4 separate regions of the Homo sapiens genome follow, and all the other regions are linked to region 2. Evidence: promoter capture Hi-C in 16 types of primary human blood cells and fetal thymus (Javierre and others, 2016). All regions are on one chromosome and are shown on one strand. Each heading gives the region's core, a stretch centred on a gene start or on the middle of the fragment in contact. The rest is flanking DNA. Distances are from core to core; before and after follow the strand shown. Region 1 overlaps DMD (dystrophin). Region 2 holds the start of TASL (TLR adaptor interacting with endolysosomal SLC15A4). Region 3 overlaps DMD (dystrophin). Region 4 overlaps DMD (dystrophin).

Region 1 (3,160 bases), core at 173-2,672, 650 kb after region 2:
CTGCCTGTGTTGTTTGAGTCCGCATGTGTTGCTAGGAGTCTGCAGCACCACTCCCTCCGGCTTACAGCTGGAAGAGATAAGTCTCTGCCTTAGGAAAGTGTGTAGGATGCACACAGAAACCTCAAGATGCAATACAGCTGTGAACAATGTGACACTGTCCTGGGCTAAAGCTTGGGATGACTGTGTAGTGAAAGTATGTATGCAGTTTAATAAAGCTAAAGCCCCCCATTCCCGTGCCCCATGAGAGACTGTCCTCCACTTTCCCTGGGAGCTGACTTTCCAGGACTCTGATCCAAGTTGTAATGAGCTCACTAGCTCTCACAGCCGGAACTCAAGAGGAGTGAGACTATCCAAGAAACCAGTTACGCCATGTTTCCATGGCAGCTGGGAGAAAGCGCACTTCAGAAGGGTAAAAATGCTGAACTGCACATTTCTCTTCATAACTTGTATTATTTTATCCAGGGCTGGTTCTAGCCTATAAATAGAGAAATCTAGAAACGTAAGGAACAAGGGCAAACATCAAACCACCTACCTTCTCAAGTTGAATTTCCAACTACTGAAGTGATAGGCCATTCATCTTTTATTTTGAAACATGAAACAAGTAATAGGCTTCTCTTGCCCCTTTGTTTAGTCTATGCATTTTTCTTGACTTTGGTAAGTATTTCTGTTTTATGACTTTCACTTTTACTCTGTGTAATAGTAGCAGGTGTCAAAATTCACCAGAAAAGAGGAACAACTGGTCAAGTTTGCGTCACATATCTACATGTTACATGCTTTTGAAAAATAGTGAGAAACACCTCAGCATTTTAAAGCCATGGAAGCATTCCAAAGATATTACAGAAAAAAAACATTAAGTCCCTTCATTTCAATTTTATAGCTGGTTTCTGTCTTTTTAATAATACTGCAAAAATCCTACTATCTCTGACTGAACTGAGGTCTAGAATTTAAAACAAGGAGTGTTTTAGTCTATCTTTCCAATGGCTTATGGAGACTTTTTGGAAAGGCCTAAGGTTTCAATATGCCTATCTATTAGCTAGAAAGAACAATAATGACCTCATTAACTTTATGAGTGGAAAGAGCTGTACGGCTAAATGATTATTCCAACAGATAAATTGGTATAGTGGTCTTTGTTTCTTCATACCAACTCTATTTCCCAGAAGAAATTTAATCCAAATCTCCCAGGTGGTAAGTGAAAAATAAAATTTAGAGCACATATGCTTTTGGGGGAGTATTGTTCTAAATTCAGTGTTTGGCATACAATACGCATTGAACTACTACTGCCTGCCTATTTTACTAATTTTCCAAATTTTCCCAAGAAGCCAAAACAAGGCAGTCTCCCCACATACTCCTATTATAGAAAGGTGGCATATTTTAAAATATAATAATATGTCTCCAATTTTCCAGTCTCACTCCTCCAAAGGATTCTAATGGACTTTTCAGATGACAAGTATTATTCTTGCCAGCTCAAACTCACTAGAACAGACAAGAACCTTGGATCTTAATGAGACTTCAGACAAATTGAGTAATTTAAATCCAGTCTGTCTTGAAAGCAAATTAAGCCAAAATATCCAGGCTTCAGAAGTCTAGAATTATTGGGAGATCTTCAAGAACAGACCAGGAATTCTGGAACATATCTTTAAAGAATTAGCTGAGAGAAGAGGAACACTAACACATCATACTTGGTCTATAATTTTTTAGATATATTTGAGGCCTCTTAAAATCTCAACTCGTAAAAACCTCATCATCAACATAGAGCTTTACTTAAATGGGGGAAAAATAAACCTACACACAGATAAACAGGAATTATGCATTCATACTTAGATAAGTACAGAAAGTACAGTCTGTGAATTTATAATTACTATCAAGTTATGTTTCCAGATGTGAAATGGTATTACTTATTTATCACCAATGACTTTGTAAAACTCTTCTAAGAAATGAAGGAGAGGGCCAGGTGTGGTGGCTCACACCTGTAATCCCAGCACTTATGGAGGTCGAGGCGGGCGGATCACGAGGTCAGGAGTTCGAGAGCAGCCTGGCCAACATGGTGAAACCCCGTCTCTATTAAAAACACAAAAAAATTAGCCAGGCATGGTGGTGCACACCTGTAATCCTAGCTACTCAGGAGGCTGAAGCAGGATAATTGCTTGAACCCAGGAGGTGGAGGTTGTAGTGAGCTGAGATCGCACCACTGCACTTCAGCCTGGGCGACAGAATGAGACTCCATCTCAAGAAAAAAAAAAAAGGGAGAGAAGCAATAAAGTACCTAGTATGGCACAAATGTGGAAGACTCAGAATTGAGGAAAAGAGAAAAAGGTTATGAACCAAAAAATACTGAGAAGTTCAACTGTGAAATAAAAGATAGCACAAAATCCTGGCTGTGGATTGTTTAAGGCATTTCTGGCTCCCTCCTCTTGCTTGGCCTTCCTCAGCAGAATCTCACTACTTCTTAGCAACACTGTAATAATGGCAGAGTTGAAATTCAAATTAGTTTTGCTCATTGTTAGCTGCCCTGGTAAAAGGTTTGTTGAGAAAGCAGTTTCTGTAACAAATGGCCGATATAAAGTTTTCTGGGGGAGAACTGTGTATCTTAAGTACCATTTCTGGGGCCTGAATTCTGCCCCAGATAATGGAGGGCTGACTCATATAGGCACCACTGTGCCATGCTCCTTTAAATCAAGCTTCAAGAGCGGAAGGATCAGGGCTCTAACTCCCAAAACCTTCATTATATATAAAACATACAATCCATAATAATTATGGATCCATAAGGATAAATGTCTTCTAAAAAGCTACAAAGCAGTGTTGCCTGATCTTTTAAAAATCATTAGTATTATTTTAATATATAACATATATTATTTTAAATACATTTAAAATAGTACAAATGACATATTTAAATACATATTTTATATATTTATAACATATGTGTATTTAAATATGTATTTGAAGTAATACTACTGATTAAAAAAGACTCTTTAGGCAGAACTGTTTTATAACTGCTTAAAAGACATTCATCTATCCATAATCCTTTCATCTATCCTTTCAATATTTATTGTGCATGTACTATAAGCCAAGAACCATGCCAAGTACATGGAATACACTGGTAACCAAAATAAATCTCTGCCTTTATTGACTTTGCAGTGTAGCGAAGGAGATGGATAATAAT
Region 2 (3,221 bases), core at 23-2,522:
ATATGGGTGTTCGTTGTACTATTCTTTCAATTTTTATATAGATTTGAAACATTTCTAAATAAAAATTGGGAGGGGGAAAAAACCATATTTAGTTAATGAAGGCATATTTACATTGTATAATGTTTATTAAGAGCCTAGAGGGACAATATCTTATATATCTAAAATAATCACTACATATGAGATGAGAAATGTCTCAGTGACTTGATATAAATACTTCAAACATCATTTTGCTCTGAGATAATAGAATTAGTGTACTACCTTTGAATATCTCCAAAATTCCACTTATGATATGGATGTTTGACACAGACTTCAAATACTCTTCAATCCTCCAGAAGCTTCTCAAGCTCAGAAACAATCTTCTTCTCACACTGACCTATGCAAGAAATGTTATAAAATATCAATATAAATATTCTGTCCAAACCAGGTCTATATTTAAGCACAGATTCATATGCGCAAGACAAAGAATGTTTGAGCGAGTCTAAAGATAATTCAAACAAAACTCCACTCGTACATGCGCTATCTTTAATACCAAAAGGGAAGCTTTCCCCAAATCACCCAGATGAAAGTCGAAAAGCATCCTCACTATAGATCGCATTCATTTTGAATACATCCTGCCACACAGAAAAACACTATCACAAGCTTGCTGAACTGAATAATTGAGAGTCAAATCCAATTGGAAAGGACTGTGATTGTTTTCGTCTCTAAAACTGCATCACCGTAACTGAATTCAAGAGCTGTGTTGTCCCTGCAAAACCCTGCTTAGGTTTTTAGGCCTTCTTTTAAAAATGCAGAAGCTAAACCAGTGTGGCAATTAGTGAAAGAGGACTGCAAAAATAACACAATAAATATTTGCTCAGATCAGTCAAAAATTGTAGGTAAAAATATAAGTGTTTTAGAAATGCTTAGAATGTGGACACGAGGAGGTAAGGAAAGGAAGTATTGGGCTTAATTTCTCTTTATTTTTCAACTCCACTGAATGCTTGTTTAAACTCCCACTTGTCTCTGATATGGTAAGCTAGAAAAGCATTTTAGATGTCATAAGAATGGATCAGCGCTCTCGTGATAAAGGGCTAAGAAAGCGTGAGAAGACAGATGACAAAAAATAATAGCGGAGTTCTAGGGTCCTTTGCTTTCTTTTTCTTACCTTCACTAACCAATCTGCTCATCTGATCCGGCAGAAACACAGCAACTGACCAAACAGAGAGATGAACAAGCCAGCCAATGCTCTTTCCAGAAATTTTCACAAGCCTTTCACTGATGAGACCAGTAGACTGAGCTGCTCAGTGCAAAGCCATTCTTTTTATAATTGGTCCCATGGAAAAAGAGTTGTTTTTGTTCAAGTCCGATTTGTGCTAAAGAGGCAGTGGGAAGTCCCGGGAGGTGGGGAGGCAGTAACTGACAAAGCCACATCAAGCCACAGAATGGTGTTTCTTCCCCTTTTTCGAAAAATGAAACCTATCTACGAAACTGTCTCTTATTAAAATAGTTTATGGTTACACATTTTGTAAGAACCCTAGCAACAGAATTAAATTTCCTTTCTAGAAAAGTACATTATCTGGGATCCTTCACCCAAAAGAAAGCCAAAGTCACATATGACTTTAGGAAATTCTGTTTCGTTACTAATCTATAATTTTTAAGAAGTATTATTTCTCAATGGTACTTATAATTTTTAAAAATGTAAATGAAAAAAATTTTCTCGGCCGGGCGCAGTGGCTCACGCCTGTAATCCCAGCACTTTGGGAGGCCGAGGCAGGTGGATCAGGAGGTCAGGAAATCGAGACCATCCTGGCAAACACGGCGAAACCTCGTCTCTCCTAAAAATACAAAAAATTAGCCGGGCGCGGTGGCGGGCGCCTGTGGTCCCAGCTACTCGGGAGGCTGAGGCAGGAGAATGGCGTGAACCCGGGAAGTGGAGCTTGCAGTGAGCCGAGATCGCGCCACTGCACTCCAGCCTGGGCGACAGGGCGAGACTCCGTCTCAAAAGAAAAAAAAAAGAAAAAAGTTTTCCCTCTCCAAATACCGAAGGTCAAAACAATAATACATGGTGTGGGCAAAGTTGTGAAGAAACAAGCACTCTCAAACACTACTGATGAGATTGTAAACATATTTAGAGGGCAATTTCCCAGTATCTCTCAAATACAAATATTCATACCCTTTGACCCAACAATTGTATTTTTTATAAATTTGTCCAAGCTATATGTTTACACTTGTACACAAAGACTTATGTGAAAAGATATTTGTTGCAGCATTGCTTGAGAAAATAAATGACTAGAAAAAATTATATCCATAAATAAGATATTGGCCAAGTAAATGAGAACGTATGCATACTTAAAATCCTATGTAGGTTGTGTGCGGTGGCTCACGCCTGTAATCCTAGCACTTTGGGAGGCCGAGGCAGGTGGATCACTTGAGGTCAGAAGTTTGAGACCAGCCTGGCCAACATGGTGAAACCTTGTCTCTACTAAAAATACAAAACTTAGCCACGCGTGGTGGTGGGCACCTGTAATCCCAGCTACTCGGAGGCTGAGGCATGAGAATCCCTTGAACCCGAGAGGTGGAGGTCACAGTGAGCTGAGATTGTGCCACTGCACTCCAGCCAGGGTGACAGAGCGAGACTCCATCTCAAAAAAAAAAAAAAAGAAAAAAAAAGATCTCTAACATATATTGTTTAGCAAGAACTCATTTTCCAGTTTGTATTTTTAAGGAATATATGTATATACATGCTTATGTAATAGAATATTTCTTTTTAAAATTTTGTATTTTAATTTTTGTAGGTATACAGTAGGTGTATATATTTATGGGGTACATAAGATGTTTCGATACATGCATATGATGCATAATAATTACATCATGAAAAATGGGGTATCCATCCCCTCAAACATTTATCTTTTGTGTTACAAAAAATCTAATTATACTATTTTAGTTATACTAAAATGTAAAATTAAGTTATTATTCACTACAGTATCCCTGTTGTGCTATTAAATACTTTGTCTTATTCATTCTTTCTAACTAGTTTTTGCACCCATTAACCATCCCTACCTGCCCCACCAGCCCTCCACTACCCTTCCCAGCCTCTGGTAACCATGCTTCTACTCTCTATGTGCATGAGTTCAATTGTTTTGATTTTTAGATATCACAAATAAGTGAGAACATGTGATGTTTGACTTTCTGTTTCTGGCTTATTTCACTTAACATAATGACCTCTGGTTCCATCCATGTCG
Region 3 (3,167 bases), core at 366-2,865, 690 kb after region 2:
ATGATAGAAGTTAACTACACACAATTATTTCAAGCTTGGAAATACTCAAAAGAAGAAGAAAGCCTTCATTAGCACAAGAATTTTCTGCAAACTTCACATAACACCTTAGATTAGCATCCAAAGAGCATCTTACGATAAACTGTTAGTGATATTTTCACTGCCCTTCTTTGTCCATTTATTTTGTTGGCTTGCTTTTCTTTTTATTTTCTTTCAAACATTTGCTTTCCACTCTCCTTTCCGATTGATTCATTCCACTTCGGTCTACAGTTTAAATGTGGTCCCCTTTTTAAAATTTATTTCTTAAGGGATGGGGGTCTCACTGTGTTGCCCAGGCTGGTCTCCCAACTCCTGGGCTCAAGCAATCCTCCCACTTCAGCCTCCAAGTGCCTGCGATGACAGGTGCATGCCACCATATCCGGCTTCTTTTGAAATAATCCTTTTCTGCTCAACATTTTTCCCCCTAGAATGTTTTAGGTGGAAGCACACCCGTTTTGCTTTATCTAATGCTATAGCATGGCAAAAGAGGCAAAAATAAAGTATCTGGACAAAAGCAAAAGGGAATGCCAGGATTCTTTATTACCTTTAACAAACCAAATATAAAGGTAAATGTTATCACTAAAGATATGTGCATGTAAGTATGATCGGTATTGCTATTTTTAAGCAAATATGGCACTTCTTCTGGCATTCTGGCTCATACACTGAGATTACTTAGTGTTGCCCTTTAGCAATTTTAAGCTAGTGAGTTGTGGAGGCAGCTGCTATTACGGTCTGAGGGGGGCACACTAAGATTTGCTTTGGCTGAAGTTGTCCCTTGGTCTAATAGTATATTCTAGGTCTGCTCCGATCCTTGGGGAAGAGGGATTAGTGTCCTGTAATGAGGAAGTAGTGCCCTTTGCAGTAAATCAGAGACACCAATCTCTGTGTCAGTGTGGCAAATCACTTAACTACTGTTTATGTTTATTTCAACGAAAAGACAGAAGCCTCAGAGCATGGACATTTGTAAATATTACAAATCGATAAACTAAGGATTTGTAACACCTGGATAGTAAGACATTTGTCACTCTCTTCCTTTCCTGTTTTTTGTTTGTTTGTTTTACACTTTTAAATTACCTGCTCAAAATTCAGGAGTTCTGACACGCTTCTCTATAAATGCTTAAGTCTCTTTTCTCAGTGTCCAATTAGAAAACTACTAAGAATAATCTGTTGACAAGAAAAAAGAATGGAATAAGAAATCACTATTCAGACTTTTTAAAAAAATTGACAGATGGCAATCCTCAAAAATACATCTTTAAGTTCTTTTTTAGACTGGAGTTATAGGCACTTGAAGACTTGTTCCCAAATCTTGACGTCATATTATAATTAAATACTGAAAGTATTAAGAAATGACGCGGGCATCACAGAGACTGTTTTGTTGTTCAATTGCAGTCAGATTATGAATTTTGCTTATTAGAGGAAAGCATTTGGAAAAGAACATAATTGATATACCTTCGTGTCATATGTAAATTATGTAGTGATGCCATGTATGATAATATATTGTTTGTTTATAGTAGATGTTTCTTCTTCTCCTCCTTCTGATTATATTATTATTATTATTATTACTGTTTTGATATGAACCACGGACATGAAAAGAGCCTGAAGCTCTGCTACCAGAACAAACTTCAGCTAAAATTTTGACTTCAGAATCAGCCATGACCTACTTGTTCCCAGTACCACTGTCTAGAATGGTGCAAGGATTGGAATTGGGGAATCCAGCTCGAAGACTCATGCGCTTAGCTATTCTGCTATGCTGCCATGAAGAGACATGGCTTCTTTTCCTGTGAGAAAGGTCTGTGTTTTTTCTAGTATACTCATAGACAATCTCACTGATGGCTCAGAGCAGAGAAGAGTAAATTTGCTAGAAATAGAGATAAAGAAGAAATGAAATGGGATGAGGTCAAAGAAGGCGACCCAGTACATTTTCCCGTAGCCAAAACTCTGGTCTTTGAACCACTTAAACTTTGAGGGTATCTTTAGAGAATAAGGGCATCTCTGACCTAAGGGACTGTGCAGGATGCTTCCCCATTCTCCCATCCATCTCTATTCTTTGTCCTTCTCCATTCTGCTCTGTGGCCCAGGAGGTTGGACCTCTGTGGGGACATCAATCAGGCTTTCCTGCCGTTTGGCTTCCTTTTGCTTTCAGCCAATTGGGAGGCAGTGATGAAAGGCCTACAGAAGGAGAGGAAAGGACAGGAGGAAGGTGATGTTTGGGTATTTATTCTTCAGGTTCCCTCCTACTGATCTCTGGCCTGGCAGCTGCTGAGTTCCTTGACCTGCAGCCACAAGTCTTGTTGGCCAGTCCTTTCCTACAGCAATAGCATTCCACCAGTTACGCAAACCATTCCTCCCTTTATCCCTTTGGGCAAAAGTTTACCATTCCTTGTTTTTTTTTTTTTCTCCTAGCCTGCCTAGAGCCTTGTAAATAGCCTTTTCATTATACTCTCTTCAAGTGTTCCGTTTGAATGTACCATCTGTTTCTCCCAGGACCCTGACCAAACTGAGACCCATCCAGCCAAAGCCACCCTCTGGGGCAATAGACTTGATGCTGAGTGGGGACTACTGATAGAGGAGAAAGTCAGATCCCCCCACTCTGGGGCTAAAAAGCAGATGAGACTCAGTCATTGGATAAATATTCAGAGAAGCCTCCTCTGTAGGCCCACAAAGAGCTTCTGGCCTTTTGAGGGTAAAGGCATATCAACAATTATGATGGTGACAACAGCAGATGTGAGGGTAAAAAGGATGCAACCAGCTTGTTCTTTACAAGAGCTTCAACGGTCTGCTTGATCTTTTGGAGAGAATGTCAAGATAAGGGTTAGAGAAATGGGCAAACTGGAAAGGGCTTAGTGTGACAATCTGGAGTTTGACTTGTATCCTGAAAGGTATGAGGGAGCTTTTTAAGGAAGAAAGAATTAAAGCATGAGTGTGGCTCTGTCCGGTTTGTCTTTTAGAAAAATCACTCAGGCAATGGTATGGGGGCTTGATCAGAAGACAAGAGTCTGAAATTCAGACATCAGGTACAAGGAGATTGCAGTATGAGGAGGATCTGAATTACAGCAGTGGCAGAGGAGGTGGAGAAATGATACAATAAGGTTCCAACTACAGGAGTCTTGACTGACTGGATGTATGAATGG
Region 4 (3,202 bases), core at 662-3,161, 670 kb after region 2:
AATAAGGAGAGACACTGGTATATGATAATAATAACTAATAATAATAATGCATATCACTAATAGCAATTATAATTCCTTGAGCAGTTACTACATCAGACATTCTGTTACCTTACATATGTCATTCTAATCCTCACAACACAAGATAAGTCTCATCATAACTATTTAATACATCACATAACTGAGGTTTAAAATTATTAGTGGCTTCCTTTTTGACCACAGAGAACTGGTGACAGAATCAGAATTTAAATCCAGCCTCAAAGTCAATGAACAATTTTGTTGCTGCAAAACATTGCCTCCAAACCTAAACTCATAAAGTGACAATAGGAAAGTCACAGTATAATCAATTAGTTCCCCCACTGAATGCACCCCATAAAGAGTGCATATATCACAGTTTATATTCTAGATAAAAGCAAACCTGTATTTTAAACTTATCACATTATATACATTATATTTAATTATAGGGGGTGCGAGAGACATTAAACTAGGCAGCAGTGGCTCTGCCGCTTAATCTCTGGTTCCTTCCTGTAACACAATGATTTCTATGCTTTGTCTTCTAAAACAATTGCTAAGGAGAGCTACCAAGTGGGAAAGAAAATAGATCCCTCCTCTGCCTGAACTTGACTCAACTGGCAAAACATTAAACCGCATAAATAACATTTTCAGGTGTTCCTGTTTGGTTAATTATCCTCCCCCGACCTGAGTCACTTGATTTGAGTTTACATTTATACTTTCAAAAATTAAGTGCTCTAGAACAGTGCTACTCAAAATATGGTCTTTCACAAGCATAGATATGGACAGTGTGTTAAGTAACTTCTATAGCAATTTGACATTGCCATGACATCCAAATTCATGATCAATGAATTCATCTCATGGAGCAGGGTACAGACGAGGTCAAGTGTTGTTGAACTTGACTGTTGAGTTACATGTGGTGTGAATGCATACTTGTCAGTTTCATTAGCACCACCTAAAAATCTGTGATGTGTAGTATGTTAAAAACCACCACCGCGGCTGGGTGCAGTGGTTCACGCCTGTAATCCCAGCAGTTTGGGAGGCGGAGGCTGGCAGATCATGAGGTCAAGAGATCGAGACCATCCTAGCCAACATGGTGAAACCCCGTCTCTACTAAAAATGCAAAAATTAGCTGGGTGTGGTGGTGCACACCTGTAATCCCAGCTACTCGGGAGGCTGAGGCAGGAAAATCGCTTGAACCCGGGAGGCAGAGTTTGCAGTGAGCTAAAATCGCACCACTGCACTCCAGCCTGGCAACAGAGCAAGACTCTGTCTCAAAAAAACAAAAAAAAAAACCCACCACCAACAAAAACCTGGCCCTTCACCAGTTTGAGAAGCACTGCTCTTCAGTGATAGCTTCTTTTTTTTTTTTTCTAAGACAACGTCTTGCTATATTGCCCAGGCTGGACTCAAATTCCTGGGCTCAAGGGATCCTTCTGCCTCAGCCTCTGGAAGCGCTGGGACTACAGGTGCGTGCCACCATGCCTGGCCTTAAAGTGATAGCCTCTTTACAGACCAAGAAAGTAAAATATAAAAACAATCACTTTCTTACCAAAATTAATGCTTGGTAAAGAAATCTGTATGTAAATATATCAATATAAGCAACATTTGTCTCCGTTATATAAGCTTCTATTTATGAGGGGGTGTAATGACTTTCCTGGAGTTATGCAAGCGATGAACGCTTTGTGGAATAGCAAATTTTGAAACATTCCCACAGAATATCACCAATTCATAAATAAGCTAATGATTCATCCACTATGTCATAAGAGAGACTTTCAGAATATTTTTAGGTCATTTTATTACTACCGTAGAGGGTACAGACTTTAAAAACTATCTATTTTATGTGAGTGCTCTGACTGTTCTGAATCTCTTTCCAGCAAAATTGCAGCTCCCAAGAGACATACAGAGGTAATCAGACTTGTGGGCTTAAAAAAGAAATATTGGAAATGTCTGAATAAGAGCAGACACGTTTTTAGATGCCTTTACTCTGTGTGCAAAAATCATCTTCTGCAGATCCAGCTACATAAAATTGTACATATCCAGCACTTTTCTTCTAGCTGCAGGTGTAACCTTAATGTTCCTCTTATTTAGATCAGTAAACTACAATTTGGCAGCTCTTTTAAAACTGTAAACCAGTCAAAGTCTAAGGAACAATTCTTTTTGAGTTTCCTTCTGAAATAAGCTTGGAGAGATGCAATTCAGAAATATCTATTATGTTCTTCAATTAGAAGCTTTAAATCAAGTTATTTGAACAAGAAAAAATATTATAATATTTAGAACAGTCCATTAAAATGCCATAAATTTTGATTTGGAAGTTACATTTCTATTTTACAAATGGGGAAAGTCAATGGATCCTAATCAAAGTTAAAAGAGCAGATTATTTTTCTTTTTTCTTTTATAAGCTGAATAGTAAAGGAAGAACATTTATAACAGCCTTAATAACAAATTTGAGTAAATCTCCTGTGCTAATTTTGTCAGCTAGGGAATAAAGAATGTCATATGGATTCCAGTTTAATTATGCCGATAAAGCAGTTTTATAAATCATGCTAAGAGTAATGGATGTTCCTTTGAGAACAGAGAACTCGGAGTTTGTAAAATGTGTGTTCTGGACTTGGTTCCTTATCTTCTACCATAGTGAGTATAAATCAAATCAAGTCTTGAGTCTCAGTCTGCTCAAGTCCAAATGGAAAGAAGGGAAAAGTTGCCCCATCCACCGGTATGGTAGCATTATTTCCCAAATCAAAAACTGGAAGGACACTCAAAGGGATGACAGGACAAAAAATCTGAAACTGAAATTGATAGAAAATCCAGGTCATATGCCACCTACTCTATAGCTGTGTGAGGATTAAATATGGTTATTTCTGAAAACTCTTCGCCATTGTAAAGTGCTACACAAATAAAGTACAATTATTACAAATATGATTATAGGCTAGGAGCGGTGGCTCACGCCTGTAATCTCAGCACTCTGGGAGGCCGAGGCGGGTGGATCATGAGGTCAAGAGATCGAGACCATCCTGGCCAACATGGTGAAACCCCGTCTCTACTAAAAATACAAAAATTAGCTGAGCATGGTGGCGGGAGGCTGCTGAGGCAGGAGAATCGCTTGAACGCGGGCGGTGGAGGTTGCAGTGAGATGAGATCGTGCAACTGCACTCCAGCCTGGCGACAGAGTGAGACTCCGTCTCAAAAAAAA

Evidence for each region. The method cuts DNA at HindIII sites, captures the fragments that hold promoters and counts their contacts. A CHiCAGO score of 5 or more calls a contact.
Region 1: a contact is called between a fragment that was not itself captured here and the fragment with the promoter of TASL in region 2, in 2 of 17 cell types (total B cells and naive B cells). The highest score is 13.3, in total B cells.
Region 3: a contact is called between a fragment that was not itself captured here and the fragment with the promoter of TASL in region 2, in 1 of 17 cell types (naive B cells). The highest score is 5.5, in naive B cells.
Region 4: a contact is called between a fragment that was not itself captured here and the fragment with the promoter of TASL in region 2, in 1 of 17 cell types (total B cells). The highest score is 5.2, in total B cells.

What each region holds. Positions count from the first base shown.
Region 1 is chrX:31,228,422-31,231,581 of GRCh38, forward strand. The region is part of intron 63 of DMD (dystrophin); the gene reads right to left. Among named protein-coding and RNA genes, the nearest start is that of FTHL17, 160 kb to the left of the region's middle. RefSeq lists a silencer at 763-812. The HindIII fragment of the contact is 2,508 bases long and covers 169-2,676 here.
Region 2 is chrX:30,576,494-30,579,714 of GRCh38, forward strand. It overlaps TASL (TLR adaptor interacting with endolysosomal SLC15A4), which reads right to left and starts at 1,273. Exons shown (of 3, transcript NM_025159.3): 1 at 1,145-1,273; 2 at 259-373. RefSeq lists an enhancer at 1,295-1,504. The HindIII fragment of the contact is 8,514 bases long and covers 638-3,221 here.
Region 3 is chrX:31,267,770-31,270,936 of GRCh38, forward strand. The region is part of intron 62 of DMD (dystrophin); the gene reads right to left. Among named protein-coding and RNA genes, the nearest start is that of FTHL17, 200 kb to the left of the region's middle. The HindIII fragment of the contact is 3,167 bases long and covers 33-3,167 here.
Region 4 is chrX:31,249,796-31,252,997 of GRCh38, forward strand. All of the region lies in intron 63 of DMD (dystrophin), which reads right to left. Among named protein-coding and RNA genes, the nearest start is that of FTHL17, 180 kb to the left of the region's middle. The HindIII fragment of the contact is 556 bases long and covers 1,634-2,189 here.